Regions from separate parts of the Homo sapiens genome. Here region 1 is linked to region 2. Evidence: promoter capture Hi-C in 16 types of primary human blood cells and fetal thymus (Javierre and others, 2016). All regions are on one chromosome and are shown on one strand. The core of a region is centred on a gene start or on the middle of the fragment in contact, and the rest is flanking DNA. Distances in the headings are between cores, read along the strand shown. Region 1 overlaps FXR1 (FMR1 autosomal homolog 1). Region 2 holds the start of MRPL47 (mitochondrial ribosomal protein L47).

Evidence for each region. Contacts are between HindIII fragments. The CHiCAGO score rates a contact against its expected background, and 5 or more counts as called.
Region 1: a fragment that was not itself captured here is called in contact with the fragment with the promoter of MRPL47 in region 2 in 1 of 17 cell types (monocytes); the score reaches 5.3 in monocytes.

What each region holds. Positions count from the first base shown.
Region 1 is chr3:180,965,875-180,971,324 of GRCh38, reverse strand. It overlaps FXR1 (FMR1 autosomal homolog 1), which reads right to left. Exons shown (of 17, transcript NM_005087.4): 14 at 3,071-3,274; 15 at 967-1,167. Among named protein-coding and RNA genes, the nearest start is that of DNAJC19, 21 kb to the left of the region's middle. The HindIII fragment of the contact is 5,116 bases long and covers 878-5,450 here.
Region 2 is chr3:179,602,578-179,608,446 of GRCh38, reverse strand. It overlaps MRPL47 (mitochondrial ribosomal protein L47), which reads left to right and starts at 3,809. Exons shown (of 7, transcript NM_020409.3): 1 at 3,809-3,920; 2 at 5,650-5,795. The coding sequence starts at 3,823. It overlaps NDUFB5 (NADH:ubiquinone oxidoreductase subunit B5), which reads right to left and starts at 3,653. Exons shown (of 6, transcript NM_002492.4): 1 at 3,508-3,653. The coding sequence starts at 3,631. RefSeq lists enhancers at 3,068-3,157, 3,188-3,347, 2,786-3,652, 3,528-3,727, 3,653-4,519. The HindIII fragment of the contact is 8,643 bases long and covers 3,209-5,869 here.

The DNA.
Region 1 (5,450 bases), core at 2,186-4,685, 1.4 Mb before region 2:
TTTTCTTAATAGTAGTAGTCTTATTAGTTGAATAAACAATTTATGCAATGCAAATTTTGAATGTATATGCACACATGTGTACATGTAAGTATAATATATTTAGAAAGCAGACATAGACATTTTTTTCATGCTTGTGACCTGATGGTGTCCACAGGTCCACTCAAGTTACCTGGCTGTCTATCTTCTGCCTGACCCCTGAAGCGACGCCTGCGGCTACGATTGCGTCGCTGGGGTTTTTTTTCACTATCATCTGTAATTGCAAAGTTTACCATGAACTATTCTGACAAAAACAAACAAAAAAACAAAAAAACCTTCTTTCCTTCAAAGATTTAAAGGGGAAAAATAAACTTTTAATTAAACACAAAAATAAAACAACAAATGTTTACTGACAGGAAATACATTTTTGTAGCTTTCAGCATTCCAAATGGATTAAAAATGGAATTATCATCTGGAAATTCAGAGGGTTTTAACTCACAGTAAAACTCAGACTTAAACTGCCATCATTCAGGGACACAGTCTTCCTCTCTAGTACAGTTTGGTTTATACCGAAGTTAATGACATTTTAGCCCTTGAAAATTAATGCCTACTCTTGATATATGTACCTTTACCAGTGTCATTTATAATTATTTTAAAAGAGGCAAGATGAAAGCCTGATTTTAGCTTGGGGACAATAAAAGCACTAAGTACCTTGCCAGCTGAATATTTGTACTGATTTAATGGCATCAAAGGGCACTTTAACCCTCCAAGTTTCAAATAATTTGGCTATAACAAATCTGAGAACTAAACATTTAAGATAGACAAAAAGCTATCTACCTTGTTCAAAGTAAACACTAAGAAAAAGTCAATTTGTGAATTGCATATTTCTTTGAAAAAAGCTTCATATACTAACAATAGTTTACAATTATATATATATATATATATATATATATATATATATATATTTCTCTTCCCTAAGTGCTTACATACCTAGCCCATTTTCATTAACTGAAGCTGTATCAGATTCAGTCATTCCATCCATCAGAACAGCATCTTCATCAGTCCTTCGTCTACGAGACCGCCTACGACGGTTAGTACTGTGATGAGATTCGCTGGCATCAGTGTCTGCAGTCTGATCTGATTCTGTATTATCAAGTAAGCTGTATGGATTGCTGTCTGGATCTTTGAGCACTATATTCATGTCAGAGGCAAGAAATATTCGTTTAAGAGTACTGCAATTATGAATGTTTGATCTATATTGAACTATATCAATGACAAATAAACTTCAGTCTCCCCCAATAAAAATGCACTGTCTTCAAATAAAATGTTTTCAATATTATTTACCTGGAAAATAACAAAGATAATTAAATATGATAAAACTTTAAGTGGTGATGAAAAATTAAAGCAGAAAGTAAGCAGACATCTTGGCTTCCTAACATTTCCTGTGCCTTGTTTTTAAAATATACATTAGAAAATAGTGTATTAAATGCTAATTCTTGCATTCACATTTCAAGGTAATCCTGCCCAGAGACTAGAAAAACAAAAATGAAAAGAAACAAATATTCAGCTGTTAAGAAATAATTATAAGAGCGAGCTTTCATCCCCTTAACTGAGTTCAAAATGACTGCAGCTTTGTTGTGTTGATGTTGATGGACTGTTTCCCAAATAATATTCAATACCTGCATTCCATGACATAATAGAAATCCGTAACTGAACTGAAGCAATCAAGACAAGTTGAAACAAAGCAGCCAATTAAATAAGGTTGAACTTCTAACTGGTTATGAAAGGAAAATGTTGAAACGAATGCTGACTAGTACTCCATCTTTAGAAACATTATGGAAGGTGATGTGAAGGTGGAAAAGGAAAAACTGTAAGGTACAATTCATAAGAAAAATACCCATCTTACCTATGTGCATTTATTACCTCCAACAATCAAATTTATAGAAGAAATTCACCTAATTCCGATTTTTCCTAAGATTCCTTTGGTAACAGCTAGCAAGCTAAGCATCTTTGCAAAAGACACTAAGCGTATCCATTAATCATAAAACACTAGGTCAAGTACATTTATTTTGCAATTCAGTATACTGTAATTTTAAACACCTTGGTAACTGTACAAAGTGTACTAAAATATAAAAACTATTACCCTGAAAGCCTGTAAACTAAACTTAAGGCTCAAAGAGTATTACTGTGGAAAGGGAGAAAATCTAAACAAACAAAGAACAAGTTCCTAATTTTTGCCCTGATTTGTTCCAGTTTTTGTAATTTGTAAGCACAGTTGGCATCTATATTTAATGTATCTACACACACTTTCTATAATATTAAAATACTACATAAGTTTTCATGGGTATAACATTAAGGAAGGTGCGGGTTTCTTAACGTGGTATACCATAATGATATGTTAAAGTTATATCCTTAATATAGTCTATGTATCTATCCCTGGCAATTAACTCCCTAGCCCGTTATGGTAACCAAGGATATTCTGGAAACTCCTACAACTTAATGTAAAGCATAAAAAAATTTTAGAAGACAGAAGTAATTAAGTAAAACGTTTCCTACACCCTCAAATCTTTAGTCATCCAAACACTCCTCTTTACAGCACAGTTCCTCCAACAATTAAAAAACTTAGTTAATTCCACAATTTTTCCCTGTTCCCAAAGTACTACATAGTGTAGCTAAGAATGCTCTTCACTTCGTTTTCAATATTAAGTATAGAAAAGTACTGACATCTCTCTGTGCATTAGAAATCTCTGGGTCTGTCTGGCAAACAAAAAAACATAACCCCAAAATTCTAGGGAAAACAAAAAAAATTCTAATTAAATAAGCCTCCAAAACCTGAAGAGAGAAACATCTGACCCTCATCATATAAAGAAAAGCTGCCAACTAAAGTTCTGACCAGTATATTCTAAGTAAACCTTCACTGAGAAACACTCTACGAGGGCTTTTCCTGATACTGCTATATGGTCCACTACTTTCTCTAAGACAATGAGTAGCAAGAGAAACTTCCAAAAATGGGTGGCCCTGGGAGATGAATTAACTTTTGTAAAATTAAACTGTTTACAAATAATGGATGCTGACAGAGTATAGAAAAGACTACCAGAACTGATGGAGGATTTGCCACCACGTGGTCCACCACGACCTCGACCCCCTGAAACACTTCTGCCTCTTCCTCCTGGGCGTCTCCTGCTGTCACGCTGATGTCGGCTGTCTCGATCATCTTCTCCTGCCAATGACCAATCACTCAGCTCGTCTTTACGCTCAGATTCCGTTTCAGAGGGGTTAGACAGCTCAGAATTTGTACCTTGGAAAAGAAAAGAACATAAACCACTTAGATTTCTATAAAAAGCCTTTTAAAATGTTCAAAATTATGTCCTACAAATTATTGTTTAAATAAGCAATACTGTTTGGCTGCTTCAAAGAAAGATCCATGAAAGTTAAAATCAATCTGAAACGTACTAAGGAATAATCAATTATTATACTATTAATATACTAGTATAGTATCTACTAGTTAATACAGATTAAAAAATAAACTGATGTGCAGAAGGCCGCTCACTTCTTCAAAACCAGCAGAAGAATCCCTCACTGCAGTCTGCTAAGATGTGCTATGTCATGTAATATAGTCAAAGGTGTGACCATCTCATCAGCAAAAGGGGATAATATCCAGGAAATACAAAGTCATGGAAGTTAAAAAAAAAACTGATGTGCAGAAATGCAGTCAACAGAAAAATTACAGAAAATATACAGAACATTAATTCCTAGGTTTTGGCACCAAAAAAAAAAAACCATACAGAACATCATTTATCAATATTAGAATGTACTTAGTATGGATAGTCAAATGTTTCTGCTGATTTGGGTTTTAGTAACCTAAATTATTAGTACAATAAAAATAACTTCAATATTTGAGTAAATTAATCATATTTAGAAAACTGAATAGTTTAACTGTATAGTGTATTTCACCATAATTTCATTGATTCTAGGGTATACTTTTCACATGTTAACATCTCTGAAATCAAGATATTTCTTATAATTGATGGCATCTTTATTATAAGCTAGAAGTAATTTTTCCAGTAGGTTGTATATAAAATGATGGCATGTTTTACTAGCATCTTAAATTGCGGTTTTTGCCATTAAAAGTAACTACTTTTACTTTTTGCTTTTCTTACTTTTAATGGCAAAAACTGCAATTACTTTTGCACCAACCTAATATTTGCAATTACTAAACAGAATTTAAGGTTTCTCTGAAACAGAAGGTCTCTCACCTGACAACAGAACTGAAGCCATGACCAGTGAGACAAATATTCAGCATTGCCTTTAAAAGTTTACAGACCATTTCTAACACTGCAACTATTGTAATGGTGACCTTTCAAAAATTTATTTAAACACCACAAAGATATAATCAGAGGCCTACATTATCATTATTTAATAATTACTGTAACTCAAATGTCAGATACATATGACTCAATCACTATCATATTCATTTCCACTTGTTAGTTCTGGGATGCCACTTCTTCTTTCCCTCTTATATGACCAAATATATCTCCTTCAGGGCCTAGTTCAAATTCTAACTTCAGACCACTGCAACTAAGACAGATCTCTCCCCATTTTTTGTTATCCTAAAATCGCCCCACATCTATCACAGACTGTGCCATGTTGTTATTTTTTCCCCCTGTGGAATTACTTCAAAATTGGTCTATGATAAAGGGTGGAACTCCATCTTATATGTCCTCAAATGCCTGGCAGAGTGTATAACAATTTTCTCAACCAAATAATTTGCTGCATTATTTTGAAGTTCATTTGCTAAACTCTCAGATAAGAGTGATTTCATGAAATACCTTGAAGTTCCCTATATTTAAACTCTGCAATCATTTGAGGAAAAATGCAAACAAGAGCTCTTCAGACATAAGAAGTTTTAAGTATTAAGGTGCAGGGAATAAAATGTAAAGTTTTATACATGAAGGTGCCTCACTTCCTTTCTCCTTTAACGATAACTCTAGGATGCCTACCTTTTCTCTACATGGTGTTAATAGATGTAACTAGTCAATTATAAAAACAATTAGGTAATTAGTTGGATGTGTATTTTTCAAAGAATACATCAAATTTCTATTACTCACTTTCAATTCTTTGTTGGGATTAGAATCTCAGGGAAGGGAATTAATTTCCCCTAACATTTATTTCACCAAATGACAAAAAGTACTTTATTAACAGGATGTCATAAAAGTTGTAATGAAGGCAATTTATCTTTCCTTGAATAGTGAAAAAAAAAGCCTTTCAGAATGTTTAAGAACTTCTGAATTTATTTACAAACCTATACCCTACCTGAAAACATTACCAAAATTCAGGGCAAATGAAGAATACTTCATTCTGAAGACTCTCTCAAAAGTTCATATTGAAGTATCCTTAGAAATCCAGTGTAGTATTTATCTAACCCCGTGTCACAGCAAGTAAAGTCTTCCTTAAATTTAACCTACATATAGTAT
Region 2 (5,869 bases), core at 2,560-5,059:
CCAAGGCGGGCGGATCACCTGAGGCCGGGAGTTCAAGACCAGCCTGGCCAACATGGTGAAAACCCATCTCTACTAAAAATACAAAAAATTAGCCGGGCATGGAGGTGTGCACCTGTAATCCCAGCTACTCAGGAGGCTGAGGCAGGAGAATCGCCTGAACCCAGGAGGCAGAGATGGCTGTGTGAGCCAAGATCGCGCCACTGCACTCCAGCCTGGGCAACAGAGTGAGACTCTGTTTCAAAAAAAAACAAAACAAAACAAAAAAAAAACTCTCTTCCTCCCCAGTTCATCTGCATCTCATTATTGGATGGCAAGAAATAGCAGCCTGACCTTCAGTTTGATATGAGAACACGGGAAGCCAGGGGTTGCAGTGAGTCAAGATGGTGCCACTGCACTCTAGCCTGGAAGACAGAGCAAGACTCTGTCTCAAAAACAAAACAAACAAACAAACAAACAAAACCTAGATGCAACCCAATTGACAGATGATGGATAAGCAAAATGGGGTAAATACATACAATGGACAACGGACAATTCAGCTTTAAAAAGGAAGGAAATTCTGACATATGCTACGACATAAATATGCCTTGGGGATATTATGCTAAGTGACAGACAAATATTATATGATTCTACTTACATGAGAAATAGAGTAGTCAAAATCATAAAGACAGCAGAATGGTGGTTACCAGGGGCTACGTGGAAGGGGAATGGAGAGTTATTGTTTAACGGATACAGAGTTTTAGTTTTACCATATGAAAAAAGTTCTGGAGTTGGATGATGGTGATGGTTGCATAGCATTAGGAATGTATTTAATACCACTGAACGGTGCACTTAAAAATGGTTAAAATAGTAAATGTTATGTGTACTTTACCACAATTTTTTTAAAGGCTACTGCTGCCAGGCACTGTTGATTTTTTCCACTCACTCTTCACAACTACCTTTTGAGGCAGGTTAAAATTCTCATCTTTTTTAAAGAGGAGGAAATGCAGGTTATGAGCAATTAGGTGTCTTCCACTTTAGCTTCCAAGATGTGATGATCACAGACATGGCTTCTGAATTCTAGAGCCAGAATTTGAAGATAGGCAGTCTATCTCCAGAAAAAACAAAACAAGACAGGCTCTCTACTACATTAGAGCTTACATTCTTGTAGGGACAGATATAAACAACCATGTAAGAGATTAAAAGCTTTCATATCACAGTGACAGATGCAAAATACCTTTGAAAGCAGGTACACAGCTGAAAACACAGTAACCTTTAGTAAACATAGCTATTAGAACCTTCCCTGCTCTGATTGGAAAGGGCGCAGAACACGGTAATGATCCTTTGAGAACCCCAAGAAAGGGCAATAATGTGGAAAGAGAAACTGGGGGTGAAATTTTGCTGCAGTTTATCTCCAGCTGGATTTGATTGAATACTACCAGAGCGAGTATTTGAAGGATTTGTATTTGGCTATATGAGAATATCTGTAATCAGAAATGGCTTATAAAGGGATTTTCATCAAGGAATGTAGTTTTGTAACAAGTTCAAATTCCTGCTGGAAATTTGTTAAATACCACTGGTTCTTTGCATCATGTTTCCAGCAAATCCCTATGTATATTGCCTCATCCTGTGGAGTGGCATAATTCAAATTAAACTGGGAGAATAGGGGTAAAAAGAGAACAAGATATTTTGAGGCTGGAGACAACTTTCTGACTTTAAGTGTTTCACTTCCTCTTTACCTGCTTCTATTGCACAGGGCAAATAGCTTACAGTATATATCTAATGAAGAGGATTAAATAAATTAATACTTTAAACCCTTAAAATGATGCTTGAGGTCAGGTGGGGTGGCTCACGCCTGTGATCTCAGCACTCTGGGAGGCCAAGGCAGGTGGATCACGAGGTCAGGAGTTCGAGACCAGCCTAGCCAACATGATGAAACCCCATCTCTACTAAAAACACATAAAATTAGCCGGGCATGGAGGCGTGCAACTGTAATCCCAGCTACTCAAGAGGCTGAGGCAGGAGAATCGCCTGAACGCAGGAGGCAGAGGTTGCAGTGACCCAAGATCACGCCATTGCACTCCAGCCTGGGCAACAGAGCAAGACTCCGTCTTGAAAAAAATAAAAATAAAAAAGGATGCTTGACACGTAACAGGTGCTCAGTAAATGTTGGCTATTATTTAGTGACACATTATTTAATAATTGAGTCAGTTTCCTCATCTGTAAAATGAAAATAACATTGTAATTTCTTTGCAGAGTCTCTGAGATAATAAAGTACACTGAATATCAAGCATTTGATCTTTGCTATGATTATTCACACCGCCATGATGCAACTCACTGTCTCCAAGGAGGTCCAAATAGCCCTATTAAGACTGTATTGGTCAGGTGCAGTGGCTTACGCCTATAATCCCAGCACTTTGGGAGGCTGAGGTGGGCGGATCATTTGAGGTGAGGAGTTCGAGACCAGCCTGGCCAACATGGTGAAACCCCATCTCTACTAAATATACAAAAATTAGCCAGGCGTGGTGGTGTGCACCTGTAGCCTCAGCTACTGGGGAGGCTGAGGCGGGAGAATCGCTTGAACCCGGGGGGTGGAGATTGCAGTGAGCCAAGATGGTGCCACTGCACTCCAGCCTGGGTGACAGAGTGAGACTGTCTCAAAAGAAAAAAAAAAAAAGACTGTATTATGACTTTCCTGAGACCTAGGCACTTTTGCCTTCAAGGGCCCCTTCGTCTAAGTTATTAAAAATAATATTTTATGACTGCATTGGTATAAAACGAACATAATACAGGCTGGATTCGTTATCATATTCATAAACATTATGGTTTTTTTAAAAAAGAAATTTAAATTAAAAGACTTTCGTAGACCCCTAAAACTATCATGGGTTCAGGCAGGAGAATCGCTTGAACCCAGGAGGCGGAGGTTGCAGTGAGCCAAGATCGCGCCACTGCACTCCAGCCTGGGCAACAGAGTGAGACTCTGTCTCAAAAAACAAACAAACAAAACAAAACAAAACAAAAACCTCTCTTCCTCCCCAGTTCATCTGCATCTCATTATTGGGCGGCACGGTACTTACTGTGCCTAAAGAATAAGTTGGCCCTGAGCCTCTTTACCTGTCTACATATTACCTGTCTTCATATTCCTTAGCATAGGTGGGCTTCTCGGCAAGATGACTTTGCATCTGTGGGACTAGAACCTAGCCTTTGGGCAGGTGGAACGCAACAATAAGCTTGTGCCCTAGAGATACAGATCTCAGCTCTATACCTTTCTAGACTCAGCTTCATCCGCAAATTAGCATTAATTGGGATGGTGAATAACAACGTTTTAGAAATGCTAATAATGTAAACACGATCTATCTGGCTACTTCAGGAAAACCCCTCATATAGCTCGTGCTCCGTCTCTCCTGTCAAGCCCCAAGCCCACAACTTGTCCCGGCTCCCTCCGGATCCCACCAAGGTCACCCTGGAAGCGTCCTCCCTTTTCTCGCCCCGCACCCGCTTCACGCCCGTTCTCCCTAGGCCAGCACCCACCAGCAGCCTTCGGAAAGCCACGAGTGAGGAAGCCCCCAAATCCGAGGCGAGTGCCAAGGGGCCGGCCAGACAGAGCTGCCACCGCAGTAACCGAAACCCGCCGCAACAAACTCATGGCCGCCATGGCTACTACGGGCAGGAGGAAGAAGGGAGGCGGGTCACGGAAGCTGAGAGAGCCAATTTACCAATGAGGACAAAGGCAGGATGTGGCCATCTTAAGTGAGGGCAAGTTTTCTATTCTCCTCACCGCCGGCTTGAGACGCCGGAAGTGACGCTATCGTTGGCGGAAACGCGTTTTGCCAGTTATGCGAAAACATGGCTGCGGCCGGTTTGGCCCTTCTTTGTAGGAGAGTTTCATCCGCCCTGAAATCTTCCCGATCGTTAATAACTCCTCAGGTCCCTGCCTGCACAGGGTAAGTGATGTATAAAGTAGGTTTGCCCACCTCTCCAACTTTGGATCTTGTTTGGTTGCCGAGATGCCGAGATGCCGAGAACAACTCAAGAATGGAACGGCCGCCTGGATGGCAGAGCCGGAGCCCACTTTGGTGAGGAGTGAGTGACCTTGGAGAAGTCGCTCACCTCCGACATTTCTATTCCTTCCTCATTTTGTTGCTGCCTGCTGTGGACAAGACAGTATATGGGGTTTGTAGATGTCCAGCATTTGTTGAAGTAAATACATCTATAAGTACAGAAGCATCCTCTTGGGCTGGGTGAGGTGCGAAAAACTTTACCGAAGATGTTTTTGTTGTGATACTCAAGTCTGTGTCAAGTTTGGATGGATTAAAAAAGAAGAGATATTTGTATTTACAGGATGTGTTACAATGAAAGTAACTGGTAACTTAGTAACTTCTTTTATTTATTTATTTTTCTTGGTCCTGGATCCAGTGAAGTATCCATTTATTACATTGGTTGCCATGACTCTTTAGTCTCTATCCGGAACAATTTCTTTTTTTTTTTTTTCTTAATGTTGTTGACATTTTGATGAGATTAGCTTTTTAAGAATCTTATTCATTTGGATTTGTCTGATTGTTTCCTCATTATAAGATTTAGGCTAAATATTTTTGGTAGGGATACAACACTTGTGATAAACTTCATTATTTAGTTTCAAATCATCTCAGGTCGTTAACTATTTTTTAAAAACAGGATTTTTGAATTACTGCATAATAATTTATCATCCAGATGCACAGTAATTTTTAAACCATTCTTAGCTGCGTATTTACATAATTAAAAACTTGACATCCTATATAGTGCTTTAATAAACATCTTAATTTATAAATTCCCATCTATAATAATTTTTTCAGTTGAAACTTCTAGATGCAGAATTACTGAATTAAAGGAGGAAGTATTTGAGGCTCCTGATACATGTTGCAAAATTGTGAGGTTTTTTTGTTTTTGTTTTTTGAGACAGGGACTGACTCTGTCGCCCAGGCTGGAGTGCAATGGTGTGATCTCAGCTCACTGAAACCTCTGCCTCCCAGGCTCAAAGCGTCCTCCCACCTCAGCCTCCCGAGTAGTTGGGACTATAAGGCACGTGCTACTATGCCTGGCTAATTTTTGTATTTTTGTTAAAGATGAGGTTTTGCCATCTTGCCCAGGCTGGTCTTGAGCTCCTGGGCTCAAAGTGATCCTCCCACCTCGGCCTTCCAAATTTCTGGGATAACAGGTGTGAGCCACCGTGCCCAGCCCACATGTTGCAAAATTGACTGCTCTTTTTACCTGCGCTTGCACCCATTAGCAATGTAAGAAGGACCCAAAAATGTTACCTTAAAATATAATTGTGTAACTATGTTACCTCTGAAATTATAAGGTAGCAGCTTCTATAATGCAGTATTAACAATACTTTCTAAAGCATTTTCAAAATTTATTGTGGCCAAGCATGGTGGCTCATCCCTGTAATTCCAGCACTTTGGGAGGCCAAGGTGGGAGGATCACTTGAGCCCAGGAGTTCGAGACCAGCCTGGACAACATAGTGAGACCCAGTCTCTAAATAAGAAAAAAAAATTAATTCTTGTGCAGAAACCCTGAGTAGCTTTTTAAAATGTTATCGATGACAAAATGATTATGTTTATTATGATAATGTTTATTGCTTATAAAATCCAGATATTATAAAACTTTTACTTGTTTATGTGTGTTCAATTGCAGGTTTTTTCTTAGTTTGTTGCCTAAGAGTACACCAAATGTGACATCCTTTCACCAATATAGATTACTTCATACCACATTGTCAAGGAAAGGACTAGAAGAATTTTTTGATGACCCAAAAAACTGGGGGCAAGAAAAAGTAAAATCTGGTGAGATACTTGGATTTGTCAACATTAGATATATTTATGGAACCCCCCCCCCCGCCCCGCCCAACCATCGTTCT